2 separate regions of the Homo sapiens genome follow, and region 2 is linked to region 1. Evidence: promoter capture Hi-C in human tissues and cell types (Jung and others, 2019). All regions are on one chromosome and are shown on one strand. The core of a region is centred on a gene start or on the middle of the fragment in contact, and the rest is flanking DNA. Distances in the headings are between cores, read along the strand shown.

Region 1 (6,134 bases), core at 1,056-3,555:
CTCTTCTCTCCACAACTCTCAGAAGCATCCCCTGAGTCTTGAGAGAGAGGGGCTTTCTCAATCCCCAGGAAGACACAGACCAGCTCAGAAAACCCCACCTCCACTGAACCCAAATGCAGACTTCACAGCTCCGAGGGAATTGTGGCAAGCTAGTGGGAAAAACTTCTGCCAGCATGGATGGTAGGATGCTTGAATTCCAAAGGTGACAGTGTACCTCCTTCCCCAAGTCCTTCTAGAAAAAGGGTCATTAACCAGTCTAGGAAGACTTAATGCTGGGAAAGGAAGCTCTGGAAGGCCTTATCTCCCCTGCCCCTTCAACCCAGGCAAGGGACCTTCCTTCAGCTCACCCAGAGAAAGGCTCCACAGAAGTCACATCTAAACTCTTTAGCCACAGGACCCTGTCTTCAAATGAACCAATGTCACATACTCCCAGGATAGAAAACTGCTGAAAGAGGGGCTGGCCTGTGTGTAGGGTGGGGCCGGAGCCTGCCCTGCTTTGCCAGATGCTGAGCGCCCAGGCTCTGTGCAGTTGGTACCTTTATTCCCATGATTGCCTCTGCCGTCACCTACTGCACTGTGAAGGATTCCATTTGTCCTTCTAGATGGACATTATTTTTCTCTTCCCACTCCCTTACCTGGCCCACAGCCTGTGCCTTTTGGAGTGGAGGGGGACATCCCAACCTGGGGACAGGGACATTTGGAGAGGAGCCCCATGAAGAGTTGCCCTCTGGGACCCTCTACCTCCCACCAGGACACTCCCAACACTGAGCATCTTTAGTTCCACAAATTCTTGCTAGGCCCCTATAAAGATTCACCCAGCCTCCTCTTCCTCTAAGCTCCCATGTGCTGGAACCCCAAAGCCATAAGGAGCCTCTCTCAGGCCAGAAGGAACTCTGGGATCCTAGCCCTCAGCAGAAGGCCCCACCAGGCTTTCCCACCTGCTCCCAGCTCCTCTGAGGAAGTTGATAGAGCCTGCAGAGCTGGGCTGGAGGAGGTTTCCTTGCCCCAGAGCGGGGCTGGGGGTGCAGGTGGGTGGCCTGGAATGTGCTCTCTCACCCTCCTCCTGCCCAGGTGGTGAGCAGCCAGAGCCCCCAGCCCTCCAGCTCTGAGGGGAAGCTCCCATGAGCCAGACAGACAGGACAGCTGCCCCCAGTAGGGTCCCCTTCACGCGCCATCTCACCCCAACTCAGACGCTAAAAATGGTTCTCTGGTTTTCAGCCTCGGCGCCTGCCCACAAATTAGTGTCTCCAACACAGCCTCTTGGGACATGACTTTAGGGAGGCCCCTGGGGGAGCCAGGAGGCCCCAGTGAAGGGAGATGGTGCTGGCAGAGTCCCTTTCTGAGGAGACAAGAGTGGATAAGGCCCCCCTCCCAGCTTCTAGGAAACCCGCCCCCCCCGCCCCCACGAAGGCCACCCAGCCTCAGTGTGACAGCCCTGTTGTCCTCACCATGGCAGAAGAACAGACATTATTTCCACCCTACTGGGGCACGCTCCCCTCACCTCCACCTCCAGTTCTGTCAGCTTTACCCTCAGCCACCATCCCGGGCACTGCTCTGCTAGAAGAGAATGCAGCAACAGGAGATGGAGCAGCCAGCCCCGCGCCCTCCCGCTCAGGGTCCAGAACCCACCTCGCCAAGCCTGGGCTCCCATAGTCAGCCCACAAGCACGGAGGCCAATGGGGAAGCCAAGTCAGGGAAGCCCGGTCTCCCTGCTCGCCTGGTATTTAGTCTCAGACTCTTCTCCCCTCCCCAGTCCCGCAACGGTCAACTTGGAAGGGGGCAAACCCTCTCCGGGATGCCCATGCCCCAGGGCACCAAGCAAGCAGGTGCCCTGCTGAGGCCGGGACTGGGCGCTAGCCAGCAGCCCGCAGGACCAGGCGGGGACAGGCGGGCAGTACTCACAGGTAAGCCGTCAGGGGGTCCAGGTCCCCCGGAACGGCGGACAGCCCGAGCTCAGAGCAGTCGGCAGACAGCATGATGCCGTCCTCCTGGCAGTGGCAGGGGGCCGGGCAGGCGGTGGGCCCCGGGCCGGGCTGGGGGGCGCCGCCGGCCCTCCGGGAAGCGCACAGCGCGGCGCAAAGCCATAGCGCCCGGAGCCCCGGCGGGCTGGGCATCTCGGCGGTCGGGCTACTGGGGCACCTGGCGGCCGGGCGCGGACGCACGGCGCGATGGCCGCAGCTGCTTCCTCCCGGTCCCGGCGGGCTGCACCGTCGGTGGGGACCGCCCCAGGGGCTCTATTGGGCGGCGGCGGCGGCGGTGGGAGCGCCGGGACGGTGCAGTCAGAGAGGGGCAGGCATTGTTGAGTGATCTTCGTTATTCAGTTTCACAGGCTGGGCTTGGCAAGGGAGGGAGACCCAGCCGGAGGAGGAGTCAAGGAAACTTTCTACACTGCGGCTCGCTCCTCTTCCCTCCTTCCTTCGGAGCTGGCAGGAATTTCATCCAGGAAAGAAAAAAAAAAAAGGAAGAAAGCAAAGAAACCCAAGCGAGCAAAGCTCAGCCCGTCAGAGACCTGCATTTGTTTGGATAGGGTGTCCCAGGGCCTTGGCCGCAGGGCTGGGGACCCTCTTGCCTTTGGGGACAGCCACGAGGTCACATGGGACCCAGAGGAGGTCTCTGAAAGAGGCCTTGGGGCTCCCATTGCCCCTCATGCCTCCACCACGTTTCACACTGCAGGAAACTGAGACCCAAGAGGCAAAATGATTTGTTCAAGGTGACACAGCTGATGGGACATCCCCAGAGCTGGAACTCGTCCACCCTCCCTGGCCTGTCTGCTAGGACAGGAGAGAGGGGAGTGAGGGGCTACCCTGGAAGAGGCCAGGCTGCGGAGGGTTCCACTGCAGGCTGGGATGACCCGACGGTGGGCAACCAGGAGCAGTCTCCTCACTGAGAGGCCGGGCCTTGACTCCAAAGAAACGGGTGTGGAGTTACACCCGCTGAGTGCACCCTGGGTGGAAATGCACTCCTGCAGCCTCTGTCAGGTTTACGGCCTGGGGACCACCTTGATCCCTGCTCCCAGGACCTCGGGAGTCTGAGGGACTGTGGGCAGCTCAGCTGGTTGTCAGAGCCCACCTCAAAGTAAGCGGATTGGTGCCACCTGGAGGCCGGGTGCTGCACCTGCAGCTCAGCCACCCTGAGGCTGGAATCCCACCAAGTGGCTGACCTGGGCCGGCCCCAGAGCCCTGGAGAGCAAAGGGCATGGTGGTTAAAACTGAGGTCAATCCCTGTTCTCTCCTTAGACCATAGTGAGCTGGCTGTGCTTCCTTCATGCAGCCTCTTGCTCTCTCTGGTCTCTCCCATGCTGAGCCAAGCCCCCGCGCAGAGCTAGAGCAGGCTGTGGGCCCCCCTCCTTCCTTTTTTTGCCCTATCTCCCCATGGTCCAGCCAGAGGGTATACTAGAAACCTGGGACCTCAGAGGCATCCAGGATTTCTTCCACCCTGTCTTTCCACATGCCAGGATCCTCTCATCAACACCTCTCCACTCTCCCAATAACCTCCCAGGGCTAGAGGGGCTGCATAGCTGGACCAAGAAATGAGCAGACCTTGACCCTAGGCCTCCAGTTGGTGCCATGGCGCTGAAAGTAGAAGACGAGCCTCCGCTCTCGCTCTCCCTCTCCCTCTCCCCTCTTTCCACGGTCTCCCTCTGATGCCGAGCCGAAGCTGGACTGTACTGCTGCCATCTCGGCTCACTGCAACCTCCCTGCCTGATTCTCCTGCCTCAGCCTGCCGAGTGCCTGCAATTGCAGGCGCATGCCGCCACGCCTGACTGGTTTTCGTATTTTTTGGGTGGAGACGGGGTTTCGCTGTGTTGGCCAGGCTGGTCTCCAGCTCCTAACTGCGAGTGATCCGCCAGCCTCGGCCTCCCGAGGTGCCGGGATTGCAGACGGAGTCTCCTTCACTCAGTGCTCAATGGTGCCCAGGCTGGAGTGCAGTGGCGTGATCTCGGCTCGCTACAACATCCACCTCCCAGCAGCCTGCCTTGGCCTCCCAAAGTGCCGAGATTGCAGCCTCTGCCCGGCCGCCACCCCGTCTGGGAAGTGAGGAGCGTCTCTGCCTGGCCGCCCATCGTCTGGGATGTGAGGAGCCCCTCTGCCTGGCTGCCCAGTCTGGAAAGTGAGGAGCGTCTCTGCCCAGCCGCCATCCCATCTAGGAAGTGAGGAGCACCTCTTCCCGGCCGCCATCCCATCTAGGAAGTGAGGAGCGTCTCTGCCCGGCTGCCCATCGTCTGAGATGTGGGGAGCGCCTCTGCCCTGTCGCCCCGTCCGGGATGTGAAGAGCGTCTCTCCCCGGCCGCCCCGTCTGAGAAGTGAGGAGACCCTCTGCCTGGCAACCGCCCTGTCTGAGAAGTGAGGAGCCCCTCCGCCCAGCAGCCGCCCCGTCTGAGAAGTGAGGAGCCCCTCCGCCCGGCAGCCACCCCGTCTGGGAAGTGAGGAGCGTCTCCGCCCGGCAGCCACCCCGTCCGGGAGGGAGATGGGGGGGTCAGCTCCCCGCCTGGCCAGCCGCCCCGTCCGGAAGGGAGGTGGGGGAATCAGCCCCCCGCCCGGCCAGCCGCTCGGGAGGTGAGGGGCGCCTCTGCCCGGCCGCCCCTACTGGGAAGTGAGGAGCCCCTCTGCCCGGCCAGCCGCCCCATCCGGGAGGGAGGTGGGGGGGTCAGCCCCCCGCCTGGCCAGCCGCCCCGTCCGGGAGGTGAGGGGCGCCTCTGCCCGGCCGCCCCTACTGGAAAGTGAGGAGCCCCTCTGCCCGGCCAGCCGCCCCGTCCGGGAGGTGTGCCCAACAGCTCATTGAGAACGGGCCAGGATGACAATGGCGGCTATGTGGAATAGAAAGGCGGGAAAGGTGGGGAAAAGATTGAGAAATCGGATGGTTGCCGTGTCTGTGTAGAAAGAGGTAGACATGGGAGACTTTTCATTTTGTTCTGTACTAAGAAAAATTCTTCTGCCTTGGGATCCTGTTGATCTGTGACCTTACCCCCAACCCTGTGCTCTCTGAAACATGTGCTGTGTCCACTCAGGGTTAAATGGATTAAGGGCGGTGCAAGATGTGCTTTGTTAAACAGAGGCTTGAAGGCAGCATGCTCGTTAAGAGTCATCACCACTCCCTAATCTCAAGTACCCAGGGACACAAACACTGCGGAAGGCCGCAGGGTCCTCTGCCTAGGAAAACCAGAGACCTTTGTTCACTTGTTTATCTGCTGACCTTCCCTCCACTATTGTCCTGTGACCCTGCCAAATCCCCCTCTGCGAGAAACACCCAAGAATGATCAATTAAAAAAAAATAATAAATAAATAAATAAATAAAAGAAGACGAGCCTCCTAGGAAGGCCAGAGGATGGGCCTACATGACCAGAAAGACCCACAGATAGAGCCACCTCTGCCCTATGGAAGAAAGCTACCGCAGGCCAGCCTGCACTTCCTTCACTCAACCATAGCCTCGGCTCCATCTCATTTGCAGCTCCTGCTGCTCCAATGTGAGATCTTCCCAGAGTGGAAAAGCCATGGTTGAGCCCTGTTTCAACCTCAGCAGCAGCTGCTTGAGACAGACTTGGGCAGCTCAGAGCAGAGCCTCCAGCCTGCTTTTATGAGGGTCATTAGGGGGCCCACCCTCAGCTCCTGATAAACATGGCATATGGAGGACACTGACATTTAGTCCTCCTGGGAGGGCACCAGTGCTTTAGTCTCATTCTGGGAAAGCTCCCGGCTGAGCAGCCAGCACGACCTCTGTACCCTTCTTCAACCAGCCCTGAGAAGGACCCTCCACTGACTTCTGACCCGTTGCACCTTAGTAGGAACTCAGGTTGGCCAAAGAGCTCTCCCCTCTTCCCCTTGGGGAGACCCAACTCCACTTCAGGGACTCTTGCTCTGATCTGTCCAGGTTTTCTCTGTGTCCTCCCAGGGCCTTCCACCAGGGGCAGTTAAGGTCCAGCATCAGGCACTGCACCTGGAAACTCCCAGCCTGACCAGGGAGGGAGGCAGGAGCTCATGTGGCCACCAGCAATCACGCACATGGTATGCAGTGCAGTCCTAGAGTGTGTGGGACAGACAGCTGCCTCCCCGCCCTCTTTTCTGGTCTCTGCTGCTCCTCCTGGTTTTTCCTTTCTCCATATGCCCTCCCTGCTTTCTCCTCCACCTCCTCCTATG
Region 2 (6,134 bases), core at 2,099-4,598, 400 kb before region 1:
TGAAAAGCCATAAAGGGGGCCTCCTGCTGGAGATTTGGCCTCCCTTGGCTCCTCCCAGGAGCCCCCATGTCTCTCCAACTGGCTCCCCACAGACCACTTCTGAAGGGCTCACCTGTTGTCACTCCCTCCTGCTCCCTCAGTCCCGTGTCATGAGAATGGACGGTGTCCAGGGCTTCCGGTGGGGTCTCAGGAGATGCCCATGCTGGCCCTGCCCGAGCTGGCTTTCTCGGCCTGGGTTCACAGTTCAGCTCCATCTCTACGCTGGGCGAGGAGCAGACAGCAGTGGGACTCCATGGTTCTGGATACCTTTCCTGGGGTCCCTGTGGAGGCAACCAGGATTTTCAGGAGCAGCCAGTCAGCAGCTCAGCCAGGGATGACAGAACCATCCCTGCTTACTCACCTCTGTAGTGTGAGGGTCTGTGGGTGGTGATGGAGGAGGGACTCAGGGAGAGGCCGGTGAATACAGGGGCTGACGCTCTTCCCTCGTGCATCCTCCTGCAGTCTGACAGAAAGCAGCCCAATAGCGGGGCAACCTCAGGGCTACCAGCGATCCCCTGAGAGTGGGGTGGGCAGGTTCAGCTGTGAGAGAGGCTCAGGCAGAGCAGGTGTGGACTAAGTCCCCTGACCTTCACACCTGCTCCCCAGAGAAGCCCCAGCCAGTTGCACCAAGTAGCAGAGGTGAGTAGAGGGGCCTGGGGGCTTCCAAGGCCCCAGGTCATCCTGTTGAACTGAGAGGGACAGGTAGCCCCCCTGCCTGCGGCCCCTGGCCCCATGGGCACCTGAGGGCAGTACTGCATGGGAAGAGCCCAGGATGCCTCAGGCCTGGCAACTGTGACAAGTATGAGGAAGGAGAGAGAACGGGAAGGGAATCAGGCAGGGCGCATTCGAGGAGGCCAGAGGTGGCGAGGCAGGCTTGCCCTGCACAAACCACAACAGAAGTTGCACACAGAAGTCCCAGGGACCTTTGTGCTGGGAACTGAAAGAGTGGGGAAGGTGGAGGGGACCATTTCAGAGCAGGCTGGAATCAGGTGCTTGGACCAGTGAAGACATGTCTTGCTTCCTCCAGCTCTCTCTGGGGCCCTCCCACTCTCCACACCCACAGCAGAGACAAATTGAGGCAAGAGTTGAGAGAGCATCTGTCTGGTGAGGTGATGGGAGCAGTGTGCATGGGGCACCAGGAGTTCCTCCATCCCACCTGCCTTAGCGATCAGGACTTTAGGGGGGCCTCTTCAAAGATAGTGACCCTTCTGCCCTGACTCCTGCCCATCTAAGGACTTGATTTGCTGCTTTCTGAAAACCCTGGGGCTGAAAACTTCAAAATCAGGGCCTGGCAGAGCCTAGCTTCGCCAAGGTCAGCCCACCAGGAGCCCTGCCTTCGTCTCCATAGGAAGGACACATGTACAGCCCTTGCCCCCGGCCCTCTCATTCCCACTTCTGCTTGGCAATGCTCTCCATCTCCCTTATGTGGACTCTTGTTCTTGTCTGATCTCTTGTCAAATTGTTATTTTGTAATGAACTGCGTCTCCTTATTAAAGAAATGAGCTGAAAGAAACCTGGGGGTGGGGGGTGTCTCTGGTTGTTTTTGCTGCGCTGAGGTGGGGGTGAGGGAGTGGGAGCTGCCTGTGAGGGTCAGTATGGTGGGTGAGGGTGGTGAGATGGTCCTGAGGCTCTGGCTTCTAACCCAGAATCTCCCTTCAGGGAAGCACCAAAAGGGGCTGAGGTCCCCTCTCTCCTGGGGTTGGGGGAAGACCAGATTGGCACTCTGGTGGGTGCTGGGGCCCACACATCTCCTGAGAACACATGCCAGGCTGTGGAACTGTGGGGAGTGTGGTGGTGCCGGGGAACATTGTCTGGGAGGCTGGGCGGGGCGGGGTGGTGGTGGGGACTATATTCTTGAATTCCCTTCCAGTAGAGCTGGGCTTAGGGAACAGCCACAGTCTGAGCCCAATGACGAGAGGGAGGCTGGCCCTGGGAAGTGGGAATTTGAAAAGTAACAATTTCTACAAAGTCCTCAGTTGACTCTTTGCAAATAACTTGAAATGTCTTTAACTTCTGAAGCAAAGATGTTAGGGACCAGGGATAGGGCGTCAGAATTTTTAGGGAAAGGGAGAGTGGGACAGCATTGCCCCCAAAGACCAGGGAAGAGTAAAACTCCTTCTTCGGTTCCCACTTCCACCTGTCTCCTCTCCTTGAGGATAGACCAGCAGCTACCATTTTTGTCAGTTTACACCAGCACCTGTCCTCCAGGAACACCGTTGGCTAGATGTGTGCTTGTCCATCAGGTCCAAAGGCATGGGGGCAGTGAATGCAAGCAGGGATGGGAGCTGCCCACCTGAGGGAGCATGAGCCCAGATCCTTTAACATCTATCCTGTCTTGCTGCTTCAGTCCCTAAGGCTGGGTAGGGTGAGGGGCATGAGCCTTTCAGCAGACGGACTGGGATTTATCACCTGAGGGTCTCCTGGCTAAGAATATGAGCTTTTTACTCTGCCAATAGGTTGTGGCCTTCTCCTTTCCCCCCAAGAGGGCTGGACCACGTGACGGCTAGGTGATACTGTATCTGCAGACCTTACTACAACCAGTGGGGGTCAGAAAGAGAAATGACATTTGCAGTCTAGGAACCCTTTGCATCGGTCATGCTTCTTTGCCTCTGTTTTGTGCCCCAGGACAGGACTGAATTCTTCAACCATGACATCAAGTGTGCTTGTTCTGCTGCTGCTTGGGTTACAAACAGCTGGGTGACATCAGGGGAGAAGAATCTTCCCTCCCTGACCTCTCCCCAAGTCAGTGACCAGGGATTTCCGCTTGGCAGGAAACACAGGGCTGAGCAAAGCCAGAGGCAGGGCTTGCTGGATGGAGAAACCAGACCCAGATCCTGGCTGCCTGGGGTCAGACCTGGCCACCCACGTACAAACCCTGCCAGCGGGCCTGAACAGCTCTTCTCTGGGCATGGCTCCTTCATTTTGAGTTTAGATTTAACCTTCAATAGCCCCCAAGTTAACTACATTTGTAGTTTGGAACTACAGGATAGTTTTGGATCTCCTGAATTAAACAATGACCTCATGAAGACTTATGGATATAGCAGATGACTAAGGGTGATGGCAGGAGACTTCCATGAGCCCAAGGAAATCACCACCTCCCTAGACCTCAACTTTCCCATGTACTAGAGTGTGCTAGTGTTCACCTGGATGGCCTCAACACCTTTGTCACTTAAACCTGGTGTCTTCCAAGAAATAACCGTATATACTCTTGGTTACTTGAAGCTTGGAACCTTGATATCTATCTATCTATCTATCTATCTATCTATCTATCTATCTATCTATCTTACGGTTCTTTTGAACGCCAATCTAGGCTTCTCCTTGGCCTGACTCCATTTAGGAAATTCCTTGATACTACCAGAGACCCTTCTCAGTGGCCATGACTCACTGTGGCTGTCCCTGGGGAAGGGGCCTCTATGTGGACAGGAGTTGTAGGAGGCTGGTGGGCGAGGCCCCCACCAATGATAAGATGTAAAATCAGAAGAGGCTGCCCCAGATGTGAGATTCTAGAAATCCCATGCTCTGAACTGTGGAGACAGTCACAAAGTTAAAACACAGTTTTATTTACTCATTTATAAATACTGTTGTGTTTACAGGCATCATATAGAAGTGAATATTATTATTCCCAAACTTTCAAACACAGAATACTCAAAACTATATAACAACAACCAGTAAAACAAAACCATTCATCTTAGGGTTGAAAGGCCACTCAAAATTGCATAAAAATACATTCAGTTCACAAAGCAAGTCTGGCTGCTTCTCCCTAAACAACCCCAACCCCACCCCATCCCAGGTGTATTTACAGTGGACTGAAGTTAATCCATACAACTCAGCTGAAAAACAGTTACATCTGGTGTGTGAACCTTGGTGGAACTAGGGTGAAGGGTGGAGTAAAGACACAAAATGCTACCACTAAAATGGGAGAGGCATGGAAACCTCAGGGTGGTTCTTTTCACCCCTGTTGATCAAGGTCAGGGCAAAGACAAGGAGGAAGGAAAACCATAAAGCCAAAGTCTGAGTGTGAACCACTCAACTGAGCACAGGCTGTAGCTTCTCCAAGAAGGATGCAAGGGTGAAACATTCTTTCCTTCCTTCTGCAGGGAAATCATTGCCCTGGTGTGCCAGCCAGTGGTAGGCACAACCTTTCAAAAGTTCAAGGGATGCTGGCTAGAAAAGGAGGTATTCTGGATTGCTGCCTCCTCTCAGAACCCTCTCCTACCCCGCAGCCTGCCTCCTGGTGTCTTTTTTCCTCCAAACTCTCTTTACCTAACCTCTCTTCATCAGAAGGCAAGCGGGAATCTGTTCCGGGTTTCAGTAGAGTGGGAGAAAGGACAGGCAAAGGCACAGATATTTAGGCGAGAGTCAAGCTACTTCTGGCCCTTGCATGTCCCTTATTCAGGAATAGTGGGCCCCGACGACTGGCACTCCGACTCTCAACTCTGGTTTTGGGAGAACATTAGAGGCTCTTAAGAGGCTCCCCACCATCAGTGTGCCTTTCCTGAATCCTTGCTCTTTGAATGGGCTGAGCTGTTGCCACCAGATGCACTGATACACTGATTGATTAGGTTTGTGCTGGGAAGACACACTTCTGTTTTAAGCTATAAACAGTCTCAGGATAAAGAGTAAACCAGACATGGCTACTCATGGTCTCCTTGGCCAGGCTATGGAGGAGTCATACGGGCCTAAAAGTCAAACCTCATCTCTGAGGGGACATTAGCATAGCCGAGGAGCTTTGAAACTGGAATAGGGGGCGGTGGTGGTGGTGGTTGGTATACCCAACTTCTACAGGAATCTTGGCTGATTCATGGAAAACCACCTCTCTAAAGCACCCTCGGCTCCAAGTGAGAAAAGCAAGGAATTAAGAATGCAGAGGGAGATGAAAGGGAGAGGAGTGAAGTGTATGCTTATTCTGGAAGGACATAAGAGCATCCTGATGTCACCTTAAGGGGCCACCCAAGTAAATCTTTATTGGAAACATCAGGGAAAAATTTGGAGGAGAAATAACAGAAAATATCACTCTGGCAGATTCATGGTCCAAAATAAGCAGATGAATTGGGGAACAGCTCAAATAGGTCCTTTGGGGGATTAGAAGGGAGGGGGAAAAACAAAAGATATGATTTAATAAATAAAATTGGTTTCTGAGTTTTCATTTGTAATCAAGTATATGCCAGACCTCATTTTAAAAGCTCTGGGCTAGCAAATGTGCATGTGAACGCACATAAGCTAGATCCAAGAGTTATCCCCAAATTGCTAAACCTTTTTAGGTAAGGCCAGAACATTCATTAATGGTATTGTCTTTAGACACACCCACCTCTTACTTACAGTTCTCCCGAAGGAGGGCTTCCGGGACACTGGGTTGTAAGCCAAACCTGGGTTCTATGTTTGCCCTCAACCCCAACTCTCAAAGGAGAAGTGAATGCATCTTTCACCATGCAGCTGCTGGCTGCTGGCCAAGATTCTGTGTTTTTTCTCAGCCCTCAGAAATCACCTCATTCCTAGTAGCTGTGACCAACAGTTCCTGGACTACAATGAAGTTGATCTATTTTCCAATCTAATCAGAACACAAAAGATCAATAGCTGTCCCTGACAGGGTCTACTGCTTCCTGAGCAGTGTCAATACCCATTAAGGAAGCTGATTAAAATCTCTGCTCAGCTGGAGCCTGAGGGATGAAGTCACCAGTGAGACAGAACTCATTTCTGTGTGACAAAGCTTTGTTTCTGTGAAACTCTCTTCCTTCCCAGTACTTGCAGCTTCCACCCTGCTCTATGTCCAAAGCCCCTGGGCCTTCTGCCTTCTTCCCATCGCAGCACACAGCCACCTCCACTTCCAGGGTCTCTGCCCTTTCACTCCAATTACACCAGGTCCTGTAGGAGGCTTGTGAAAGCCAAGTGCTGTTCTATGCAATATGGTTGTGTGGACTCTGGGTTTGTAAACACTGCTTTGGTAGTCTCCTCTTCAGACCTGCTTTGAAGGAAAGACCATCTTGAATGGTATCAGAACCTCCTACTTCTGGTAAGTCCAAAATCCAGAGGGGGAGCTCAATGGAACTAAAGATTGAGGTTCTTGTCGAGGAAAATTTTCTTGCTGCTGTAAGGCA

Evidence for each region. Contacts are between HindIII fragments. The study calls those that stand out against the background at their distance.
Region 2: a contact is called between a fragment that was not itself captured here and the fragment with the promoter of LGR6 in region 1, in 1 of the 25 tissues and cell types used here (neural progenitor cells).

The regions. Positions count from the first base shown.
Region 1 is chr1:202,189,970-202,196,103 of GRCh38, reverse strand. LGR6 (leucine rich repeat containing G protein-coupled receptor 6) reads right to left here and starts at 2,305. Exons shown (of 18, transcript NM_001017403.2): 1 at 1,903-2,305. The coding sequence starts at 2,114. RefSeq lists enhancers at 3,172-3,221, 2,916-3,719. The HindIII fragment of the contact is 27,919 bases long and covers 1-6,134 here.
Region 2 is chr1:202,586,014-202,592,147 of GRCh38, reverse strand. PPP1R12B (protein phosphatase 1 regulatory subunit 12B) reads right to left here. Exons shown (of 24, transcript NM_002481.4): 24 at 1-6,134. It overlaps SYT2 (synaptotagmin 2), which reads left to right. Exons shown (of 9, transcript NM_177402.5): 9 at 1-1,552. Among named protein-coding and RNA genes, the nearest start is that of SYT2, 120 kb to the left of the region's middle. RefSeq lists enhancers at 208-1,034, 2,705-2,754, 2,160-3,359. The HindIII fragment of the contact is 7,763 bases long and covers 1-6,134 here.